2 separate regions of the Homo sapiens genome follow, and region 1 is linked to region 2. Evidence: promoter capture Hi-C in 16 types of primary human blood cells and fetal thymus (Javierre and others, 2016). All regions are on one chromosome and are shown on one strand. The core of a region is centred on a gene start or on the middle of the fragment in contact, and the rest is flanking DNA. Distances in the headings are between cores, read along the strand shown.

Evidence for each region. Contacts are between HindIII fragments. The CHiCAGO score rates a contact against its expected background, and 5 or more counts as called.
Region 1: a contact is called between a fragment that was not itself captured here and the fragment with the promoter of TMEM106B in region 2, in 1 of 17 cell types (endothelial precursors). The highest score is 5.6, in endothelial precursors.

What each region holds. Positions count from the first base shown.
Region 1 is chr7:11,834,742-11,840,522 of GRCh38, forward strand. No RefSeq gene overlaps it. Among named protein-coding and RNA genes, the nearest start is that of THSD7A, 5.4 kb to the left of the region's middle. The HindIII fragment of the contact is 172 bases long and covers 1,292-1,463 here.
Region 2 is chr7:12,209,764-12,215,618 of GRCh38, forward strand. TMEM106B (transmembrane protein 106B) reads left to right here and starts at 1,531. Exons shown (of 8, transcript NM_001134232.2): 1 at 1,531-1,662; 2 at 5,046-5,264. The coding sequence starts at 5,048. RefSeq lists enhancers at 930-1,079, 1,213-1,731, 1,290-1,339, 1,732-2,248 and a silencer at 1,520-1,829. The HindIII fragment of the contact is 6,470 bases long and covers 1-5,791 here.

The DNA.
Region 1 (5,781 bases), core at 128-2,627, 380 kb before region 2:
GAGATAGCAAGACATAGCAATATTTGTTTCCTAGAATATGACATAAATAATAATACACAAATGTTTAATGACATGATGTCAAAATTTAGTCATGAGAAGTCTCAAGGATGCAGATTAAATTGACCATCTGTACAGCCTGCCATGAAGTAAATCGTTCGTCATTTTTCATGGAGAACTGTTCAAATATTAATGAGCCAGTGCGATAAAAGTTCTCCAAACCAATGAATGACAAATGCAAAGCATATTTTTTTAATATTTAGAAATGAAAAAATTCTAAACTTATCACCTCTCATGTGATAGGTGTCTTTATTCTGCCTCTATTAATTTTGCTATCATTTCTAAACTCCAGAGGTAAGGATGTGAACATACCTATACACATCTGTTTTCTCTTTTATTAGAACATAAACATATAAATATATATTACAACTCATGAGACTCATGACAATGACTTTTAGTCATTAGTATCAATATTTTAAAACAATTATGAAATATTCAGTTCCTTGATGGAAAGGGAAACAACTTTTAACATCAACAGTTTTATAATTATAAAAAAGTGAAGAAATATAGTTATTTATTGATAGTATTACATATGGAAATATCTAAAGATGTCCATTTTGAAATAAAAACTTAAAAATAATTCTCCACATAAATGCATTTTGCATCCTAAAAAATAAAAAATACCCAAAGGAATTCTATTTGTGCAACCTCTAGGTGTCACACTTGACCAAGATTTGGATGAGACAAAATTTATTTTGGGCTTCTTTCTATCCTCCCCTTCCCTTGACACCCACCCACCAAGTTTATAGGTACACCTCATTTTACTGTGCTTTACACATATTTTTGTTTGTTTGTTTGTTTAACAAATTTAAGGCTTGTGACAACTTGGCATTGAGCAAGTCTATCAACATAATTTTTCCCACATGAAGTGCTCACTTCATGTCTCTATCACATTTTGGTAATTTTCATAATTTTTCAAATGTTGTCACTATTATTCTATCTGTTATGGTGATCTGTGATCTGTGATCTTTGATGTTACTGTTGTAATTATTTTGGGGCACCACATACTGTGCCCATATAAAATAGCAAACTAAATTAATGAATGTTGTTGTGTATTCTGACTTCTCCACCAACAGGCTGTTTCCCTATCTCTCTCTCGTTGGGCCTCCCTTTTCCCTGAGACATATGAATATTGAAATTAGGCTAATTAATAACCCTACAATGGCTTTTAAGCGTTCAAGTGAAAAGAAGAATTACAAGTCTCTCATTTTCAATCAAAAGCCTAAAATTATTAAGCTTATTAGGGAAGGCATATCAAAAGCCAAGATAGGCCAAAAGCTAGGCCTCTTGCACCAGTTAGCCAAGTTGTGAATGCAAAGGAAAGTTCTTGAAGAAAATTAAAAGTACTACTTTAGCAAATACACATATGAAAGGAAGCAAAACAGCCTTATTGCTGATATGGAGAAAGCTTTAGTGATCTAGATAGAAGATCAAATCAGCCACAACATTCCTTTAAACCAAAGCCTAATCCAGAGAAAGGCCCCAATTCTATTTAAACCTGTAAAGACCAAATGACATGAGGAAGCTGCAGAAAAGTGTGAAGCTGGCAGAGACTGTTTCATAAGGTTTAAGGAAAGAAGCCATGTTCACAACAAAATTGCAAGGTGAAGCAGCTGTAGCAAGCTACTCAGAAGATGTAGCTAAGATCACTGATGAAAGTAGCCACATTAAACAATTTTCAACATAAACAGATGAAAGTACCTACATTAAACAATCAATTTTCAACATAAATGAAAAAAGCCTTCTATTAGAGGAATATGCCATCTAAAATTTTAATAGCTAGAGAGGAGAAGTCAATGCTTGGCTTTAAAATTTCAAAGGACAGGTTGACTCTCTTGTTAGGGTCTAATTCAGCTGGTGATTTTAAGTTGAAGCCAATGCTTACTTACCATTCTGAAAATCCTAGGGCCCTCCAGAATGTACTAAATCTACTCTGCCTGTGCTCTATAAAGGTAACAATAAAGGTGAATAACTGCCCATCTCTTTAGAGCATGGTTTACTGAATATTTTAAGCCCATTGTTGAGATCTACTGATCAGAAAATAAGATCTCTAATGGAGATATACAGGATATTAATATTTTCATACCTGATAATACAACATCAACTCTGCAGCCCGTGGTTCAAGGAGTAATTTTGACTTTCAAGTCATTATTTAAGGAATATATTTTGTAAGGTTTAAGCTTCCTTACATTATAATTCGTCTAATGGATCTGGGCAAACTCACTTGAAAACTTTCTAGAAAGGGTTCACCATTCTAGATACCTTTAAGAGCATTGATGTTTTATGGGAAGAAGTCAAAATACAAATATTAACAGGTTTGAAAGAAGTTGATTTCAACCCTCATGAATGACTTCTAGGGGTTCAAGACTTCTCTGGAGGAAGTCAATACAGATGCAGTTAAAAAAGCAAGAACACTAGAATTGAAAGTGGAGTCTAAAGATGTGATTCAATTGTTTCAGTCTCCCGATAAAATATGAACACATGAGGAGTTGCTTCTTAGGAATGAGCAAATAAAGTAGTTTCTTGAAATGGAATTTACTTCAGGTGAAGATACTATGAAGAGCGTTGAAATGACAACAAAGGATTTAGAATGTTACATAAATTTAGTTAATAAAGCAATGGCAGGATTTGAGATGATTGACTCCAATTTTGAAAGCAGTTCTACTGTGGTTAAAATGCTATCAAACAGCATCACATATTACACAGAAAGCTTTCATGAAAGGAAGAGACCATCAATGCAGCAAACTTCATTGCTGTCTTATTTAAGAAATTGCCATAACCACCTTAACCTTCAGCAACTACCACCCTGATTAGTTAGCAGCCATTGACATCAAGGCAACACCTGCTACCAGCAAGAAGACTACAATTTGCTGAAGGCTCAGATGATCATAGGCATTTTTTAGCAATAAAGTATTTTAAAATTATGTACATTTTTAGACATAATGCTATTGCATACTGAATAGACTATAGTATAGTTTAACAATAACTTTTATATGCCTTCGGAAACCAAAATATTAGCATAACTTGCTTTATTGTATTTGCTTTATTTCAATAGTCTGAAACCGATTTCTCTATAACTCTGAGGTATGCCTTTATTAAAAGACAGAAATTTTCATCTTTTATCTTTACAAGTAGCTATATATTTTACTTTTTTGTTTTTTCAAATTCCGGCTTTAGTATTTCTTCTCTCTTTTCTTTCCCATTTCTTTCCTTTTTTTTTTTTTTCTTAATAGACACTGTTTTGTTGTTGGTTTGTTGGTTGTTTGGTTGTTTTGGTGGTTTGTAAATTTACGTATGAGGGACGAGCAGATTTTAAATTTCAGATTGTTTTACATAAAATTAATCTCATTGTTTCTCCATTTTATTCATTAAAAAACCTGTTTGAAAATAAAATCTGCTGCAAATGATTGGACCCCTTGATTTTAACATCAGGTGAAAAAATACAGTATTCTGTTTCAGAACCTTTCAGAGTTTGGGGAATGGATTGCTCACTGCAGGACTTACAATGAGGAAGAACCTCATCCCAGATGGAACGTAAGGAATCAAAAGACCCTGGCACTAGGTAGCAGAAATATTGTTAAACATTTTTTACTAGTGGTATTCTTGCCAAACTCTTTCAAAAAATTGAAGATGAAAACATTCTTCCTAACTCATTCTATGAGTATAGCATTATCTTAATACCCAAACTAGACAATGACACAACAATGAAAGAAAACTACAGGCCAATATTGCTAATAAACAGAGATTCAAATATTCTTGACAAAATAATAGCAAGCTAATTCCAACCACATATCAAAAATAATATACCACAATCAAGTGGGTTTTATCTCAGAGATGAAAGGATGGCTCAATATGTATAAATCAATAAAGCGATATATCACCTCAACAAGATGAAGGTCAAAAATATATTATCACCTAAAAAGATATAGAAAACAGCATTTGATAAAATCAACATCTTGTCATGATAAAAACTGTCAACAAATTAGGTATAGAAGGAACATATCTCAATGAAATAAACACATATATGTTATATATATGACAAACCCATAGCTAACATTATACTCAACTATAAACTTCCCTCTTAGGACTACTTTTGCCAAATCCTATGAGATTTAGTATGTTCCATTTCCATTTTCATTTGTCTCAAGTTTCTTTAATTTCCCTTCTAATGTCTTCATTGACTCAATTGTTCAGGAATGTGTTGTTTAATTTCCATGTATTTAAAAATTTTAAACGTTCTTTATATTATTGTTTTCTCTTTATTCCATTGTAGTCAGAAAAGACACTTGATATTATTTAAATCTTCTTAAGTTTGTTAAGACTCATTTTCTGGCATAACATGATCTGTCTTGGGAGAGTACTCCATGTGCACTTGAGAAGACTATGTATTCTACAGCTACTGGGTGGAATGTTTTGTTTATGTCTGTTAGGTCCATTCAGGCTAGAGTATAGTTTAAGTCCAGTGTTTTCTTATTGATTTTCTGTCTGGATAATGTGTCCATTGCTGAAAGTGGGGTGCTGAAGGCCCCTACTTTAATTTTATTGTAGTCTCTCTCGGCTATATTAATATTTGATTTACATATTTAGGTGCTCCAATGTTGAGTGCATATATATTTACAATTATTATATCCTCTTGCTGAACTGAGGTTTTTATCATTATATAATAACCTTCATTTTCTCTTTGTTTCTTTTTACAGTTTTGACTTAACATCTATTTTATCTGATACAGGTATAGTTACTCCTGCTCTTTTTTTGTTTTTATTTGCAAGAAATATCTTTTCCATCTCTTTACTCAACATATGTGTATCCTTAAGACGCATATAGTTGGGATTTGTTATATTACGCACTCAAACATTCTATGCCCTTTGATTGGAAAGTTTAATCGATTTACATTCAAGGTAATTTTTGATAGGTAAGAACTTACTACTGCCAAAATTGTTTTCTAGGTGTTTCATAGATCATTAATTCCCTTCCTCATCTCTTGCTGTCTCCCATTATGGTTAAATTATTTTCATTAGTGATATTCCTTGATGCCTTACTTTTTATTTTTAGTGCATCTACTATAAATTGTTGGTTTCTGGTAACTACCAGGCTTACAAAAAAGTTTTTCAAGCTGAGAACAACTTTGATTGCAAACCAAACCAAACCAAACAAAAAAGTATACTTTTAATCTACCCCCAATTTTGATTTTTTAAAACTGTCACAATTTATATATGTATATACGCTTTCTATGTATATACATATGTTTATACGTGTGTGTGTGTGTGTGTGTGTGTGTATATATATATATATATATTTATTTTTGAGACGGAGTCTCGGTCTGTCACCAGGCTGGAATGCAGTGGCACAATCTCAGCTCACTGCAACCTCCACCTCCCGGGTTCAAGCGATTCTCCTGCCTCAGCCTCCCAAGTAGTTGGGTCTACAGGCAAGTGTCACCGTGCCCAGCTAATTTTTGTATTTTTAGTAGAGACAGGTTTTCACTATGTTGGCCAGAATAGTCTCCATCTCTTGACTTCATGATCTGCCAGCTTCAGCCTCCCAAAGTGCTGGGATTACAGGTGTGAGCTACCGCACCCGACCTATAATTTATGTATTTTTAAAATGCATATGTCCTAAAATTTATTGATACTATTACTACTTTCTAATACTTTTGTCTTTTAACTGTCGTACTAAAGATATAAATGATTTACACACAACTGTTACAATATCAGAGTATTCTGA
Region 2 (5,855 bases), core at 281-2,780:
ATGTGAATATAGTTTACATCCTATTACAATACCTCATATCCTATACTTTGCATCCTGATTTTAATTTTATATCACTCCGCGTATAACAGCCTTATAAGATGGTTTTTACTGGCTTTATAAAAACTCAATAGATGGCTATTCCATAATTTTAAAAACTCAGTAATTCCAAGGGGAACATCATATCTCCACAGGTGGACTGTCAATAATTTTGAGAAAAATTTTCCCCCATGATTCTGATTTGTTTTAACCAACCTATTAATTTTGAAATTTCAAACAGTGTTAATGGAAGACACCCTGACCCTTCCCTTTGGAAAATATGGGCTAAATAAAAGCGGTTGAAAAATAATGATTTTATCAATGTCCCTTGTTGGACATTCAGTTTATTTAAATGGATACACCTCATACCCAAATCTTTTTAGAGTTCTCATTAGGTTTAGGATACTTCTGAAAGGGTGGAATTGCTGGACCAAACGATGTGAACATTTTAATAGTCTTGATACATACTGACTGTCTGCCAGAAAACTTAGGAGTTTTAAATCTCCGACAACATTGTATGAGAAAGCTCATTATCTCACATATGGATCTACAGTAATCCTCTTAAATTGTATATCGTTCTGACTTGTATTTCCTACTTTTACATAGCTTCATTTCCCAATTCCTGTTAGAATTCCCTGATTCTAACAGGATCACACTGATCCTGTTAGAAGAGAGAAATATATGACTCTCACTTCCTTGCTCCTGTGACTGTAAGAATGCCTACCATTCATTAAACGTTAAACTCTCCGCAGGAATGAGACTAGAGTGCCCTTAATATTATTACCGGCATCTCATTGATCCCTCAAAACGACTCCTTGTCGTTGTTCTTATCTTCTAAGTGAAATGACCTAGACGTTGGGGGAGGGCAGCCCCAACCCACAGCGAAGAGCTTAAGTACTGGGATCCGAGACGGGATTTCACACACCTGTAACTAGCACCAGAGTTAAGGGGTGGGGAGGGGCAGCGTGGGCAAAGCGAAACGAAACCGAGCAAAAACAAAAACTACGGCCTTGCCGCTTGCTGTCTCCTTCTAGTTGGCCAGTTTCTAAATTAAAATAGAGGTAGCTTTGCTGCTGTCAGCGGCGTGTGTACGGACCAGTTTATTCCATTCCTAAGGACCAGACTGTCAGCGACAACTCGCATTGCGTGAGCGAGGAGGCTGCTCAGCTGAAAGCTGAGGCAGATGGTGCACATTTATACCCTTTGCAAAAGGAAATGGTCTGATATGGGAAATAGGAGGAGCGACTGTTCCTAGGTAATTCGTGGCTACAGTGGACACTTTGAAGTCTGGGGGACGCGAAGGTAATGAAACCTGAAGAGCGCACAATCTCACACGATCGACGCCTCTGGGCTCAAACAGGAGGAAGAAGGACGCATGCGTCACGCGCACGCCAGGGGTGTCCCTCCGGGAGCGCTCTGCGCAGGCGCGGACGCAGGTTACAGCAGCGCTTGGCCTCTGCTGATGCCGTCGTTATCCTACCCCTCCCCCGTCCCAGCTCTACGGCGGCCGCGCGCTCCAGGCCGGTCGCTCCACCCCCCGGCTCCCGGGACTGTGGACTCCACGACCCTGTCCTCGGCCCTGTCCGCGCCGAAGCAGCCCGGGACTGCGCAGCGCCCCGCGTGCCGGTGAGCGACCCCGGACGTGCAGTCCCCAGGTCCCCTTCCGGAGCGAGGCTGAGCGGCTGCGCCGCGGCTTGAGCCGGGCCTGACAAGGAGGGGAGGCCGCTGGGGTGCTGGGCCAGCCGCAGGTACGGCGGCGGTCAGGGCTGGTGATCGAGTTGCTGTGTCGCCTCTAATGAGGCCCAGCCAGGGAACACTCGGCTTCGGCCCAAGCCCTACCTCTGGGTTGCCTCTAGGCCCTCACACCTTGAGCGCCAGGTGGCCCTCTTCCTTTTGCTGTTGATGAATGTTCTTGCCGTGGTGCCGGGATCTTATTTTGCAGCTTTACAGAGTAGGCTTTGTGCTAGGTGTTGTTTATGGAGCTTTTCAAAGGCGCTTGTTTCCTTAGTTCTCAAGCCCTTTTAGAACTAAAACCAGTGTCTACACAGAAGATCAGGAGCCATTTAAATTGGAGTGCTGTGATATATTTTTTCTCTCCAAACTGAGTCTGATATCCATGTTGACTTTCAGTAAACTAAGGAACCGCTATAATAAATAACACTGAGCCCACAGAGGTTGCAGAAGAGGGTCTAGCACCCCTTTTTTAAACCATTGAGTCTCCCAAGAATAAAAGTGGTTACACTTGTCAGTTCTCTAAGGAAAATCTAGTAGAGAAGGCAAGGGATTCCCAGTTTCTCACAGAGTCTGGCACTTGTCCAAACACCTACCCTAAAGCAGAATCGATCATGGCAGCTATTAGATTAGGACAGAAAACAGGCTCAAACGGAGAGCCACTTGAGTCTGCCTTTCTGTGTCTTTTTTCTCAACGCGCTCCAGTTAAGATGCAGCTTACAGCCTGGCTGTGTTGACTGAGATCCCAGAAAGAGTGCCCTTAAGGCCTTGCTGATAAGGCCCAATGATCCCAATTCATCTAGTGTTCCGCATAGACCCCAAGGTTACAGTGTGTGGGGACAGTGATGTTAAGTCTTCCCTATCCTACCTGTGGCTGACAGGTGTTGATTAAGACAATGATTTTTTAGAAGTCATAAATCATTTGTATTTTTGATGTGGGCAGTGATTTTTATAAATACATAGTTTTTTTTTTTTGAAAGAGTGAAAATCTCATTTTACATTTGTTTGCATACCATTTGTATAGTTTTTTAAATTCTGTTTATTTGAGTGACAGCAACAAGTGGATGGCATGCGAATTTTATTTATTTTTTTATCTTTGTATTTATTTTGTGTATATTCATGGAGTACAAGTGCCATTTGCTACATTGATACACAACATCCTGGTGAAGTCAGAGCCCTTAGTGCATCCAGCACTGGAGCAACACACATTGTACCCACCAAGCAGGCTCCTATCAGGCATGCCAGTTCTAGAAAGTAAAATTTTCTTCATACTCTAGGATGAACTGACTTACTTGGAATGTCTGTTTTGTTTAATCAAATAAGTGAGAATTTTTGAAAGAAATACTATCTGTCTGAATGTATGTAATCTATTTTTAGGAACCGCTAAAAGACATATCAAATTTAGAAGGAGTATAATTATGTTATTTTTCAGTTTTACTTTTTCACTTTATTTTTTCTCAGGATATAAGCAGGAAAATACCAGCAGGGTGTATTATATGACTGTTAAGTTCTTTTCAGCTTTAAAAGGGTATGACCTTAAGTATAAAGTTACTTCATTATCTACCTGCAGAAGTTATTTTTGTGTAGGCACTAGTACTAATTATTTATTTCTACTTAGATTTTTACATTTGTATTGTTATTTTGATACTCTTATCCTAAAATTTTTGAAGTTAGTGTTCTAAATTTTGCTGCTTTGTATTGGTAACTTATATTTAATATTTTGGAACATTGGCTTCATAATTTTAACTGTCAACTGTTGAATGAAAAAAAAACTGTGATTTTGGAATTTTGGGGCTTTTTATTGTTGTTGCGAGTGTTTAAATGTTTAAAGCAAGAAATTTAAGGATGGAAAAGAGTGGTGATTGTATTTATCACAAAGGTGCGTGAATTTTCAGAGGCTGAAACGTACTACTTTGAAGTTACTTGGTGATATACATCAAATACCTAGTTATCGTCTACCCAAAGCAATTTTTGCCTTTAGTGCTAACTAGTTAAAAGGTAGAATGTATTTTTATTTTATTTTAAGAAAAATGAAACCTGCATGTTTCTTTTCAGAGAACCTGCAGGTGTAGACTTTTGTCAAATGTTAATGTTTGAAAGCCCATTCTCATCATAAGCATGATAGGACATCATTTCACATTATTTGTTTAAAAAAACACTTCTGGACTCTAGTAAATGGCTCCTTTGTTTCAGACATTATTTTGATTGGATATAATCCTAATCCAAAAGGTATAATCCAAAAGGTAGTTTGAACATTCTCTTAATGTTTGTTCTGTAAACCAAAAATAAAATTCTGAGCCCCCCAACTAAGTGGAACCCGCTTCTCTGTCAAGGGCATTCCAAAGTAAACCTAAAAAGGTAGTTCAGGCCATGATGAAAAGGTGGGTGGAGGGGATTGAACATGCCCCGTTGTACCTTCCTCTCTTTGGAATTCAGGCACAACTGACCAGCATCAATTAAAACAGAGATTTGAAGACTAACAAGAGTCTCTTTGTAGCAATAAGATATCAAATCCCAACCTGACTCTAATATAGAATCACTCGACAGATAGCAGGCCCTGAGAGAAATTGAAATATCTTACCCCAAAATATATTTCTTTGAAATGGCCTTGCAAAGCTGTCTCTCGTGGGGAAGATCCACATTCTGTACAGAATCCCCTTTCCTTTCCAGATCTTTTCCTAATTCAGCAGCGATTTAACCAAGAGCCTGGAATATTTTAAGGAGTAATAAGAGACATTTACAAACTATTCTCTCTGAAGCCTGCTACCTGGAGGCATCATCTAGATAATCAGAACCTTGGCTTCCACATCCTCCTCCCTTGTCTTAACTACAAACATTTCTTTCTGCTGACTTCAACTCCTCAGGTAGAGTTTAACCGTTTCAACCAATTGCCATTAGGAAATCTTTAAATCCACCTATGCACCTATGACCTGGACACCCCCCAGCCTTCCACCCCTGCTTCAAAATGTCCTGCTTTTCTGGGCTGAATTAATGTATACCTTACATCTATTGATTTATGCCTCTGCCTGTAATTTCTGTCTCCAAAATGTATAATCAAGCTGTAACCCAACTACCTTGAGGACATTTTCTCAGGACCTGTTGAGACTGTGCCTCAGGCCTTGTTCACTCATTTTTGGCTCCGAATAAATCCCTTCAAATATTTTACAGAGTTTGACTGTTCCTTGACTGTTCTAAATTAATTAGTGTAAATATCTCAGAGTGTTCTTGAATGTACTTTTTTCCCTGAAGTTTACTGTAAGATTTTTATTTTTCTTTAGACATGGGAAAGTCTCTTTCTCATTTGCCTTTGCATTCAAGCAAAGAAGATGCTTATGATGGAGTCACATCTGAAAACATGAGGAATGGACTGGTTAATAGTGAAGTCCATAATGAAGATGGAAGAAATGGAGATGTCTCTCAGTTTCCATATGTGGAATTTACAGGAAGAGATAGTGTCACCTGCCCTACTTGTCAGGGAACAGGAAGAATTCCTAGGGGTATGTGTTATTGTATTGTTTTCCCTTTAAATGATTTTAGGTATTTGCTCAAGTATTATAAAAACTGTGGGTCTCAGGAACCACCTGTTTTAGAGGACTCTTAGAATTAAAGTTGAAACATCATATCAGTTACCTTCAGTCAAAAAGATGCAAAAGAAACAAATAAAGTATTAATTAAGGTTCCTAAAGCAGTAAAGAAAACCACCTCACTACCTCCAGTATTTTTTCATTCCCACCTGCTATTATAGCAGATATTCACTGTCTTGTAAATGAAAACTTTTAGTCCTATTTGGCATCTGTAGAGATGACATCATAGTTACTTGCTACTTTGCTATATCAGATGTTAGAAGCAATTTAAGTAATTTGTTGACCTATTTTTTTTTTTTTTTTAAGAGATGAGATCTCGCAATTGTTGGCCAGGCTGGTCTTGAACTCCTGTCCTCAAGCAATCCTCCCACCTCGGCTTCCCAGAGTGCTAGGATTATAGCAGTAAGCCACCATGCCCAGCCAGAGTTAATGTGTAAGGAAGCTTATTCTTTCATGTTATTTTTAAAATTTTATTTTTTTAATAATAAGGATGGAGTTTCCCCA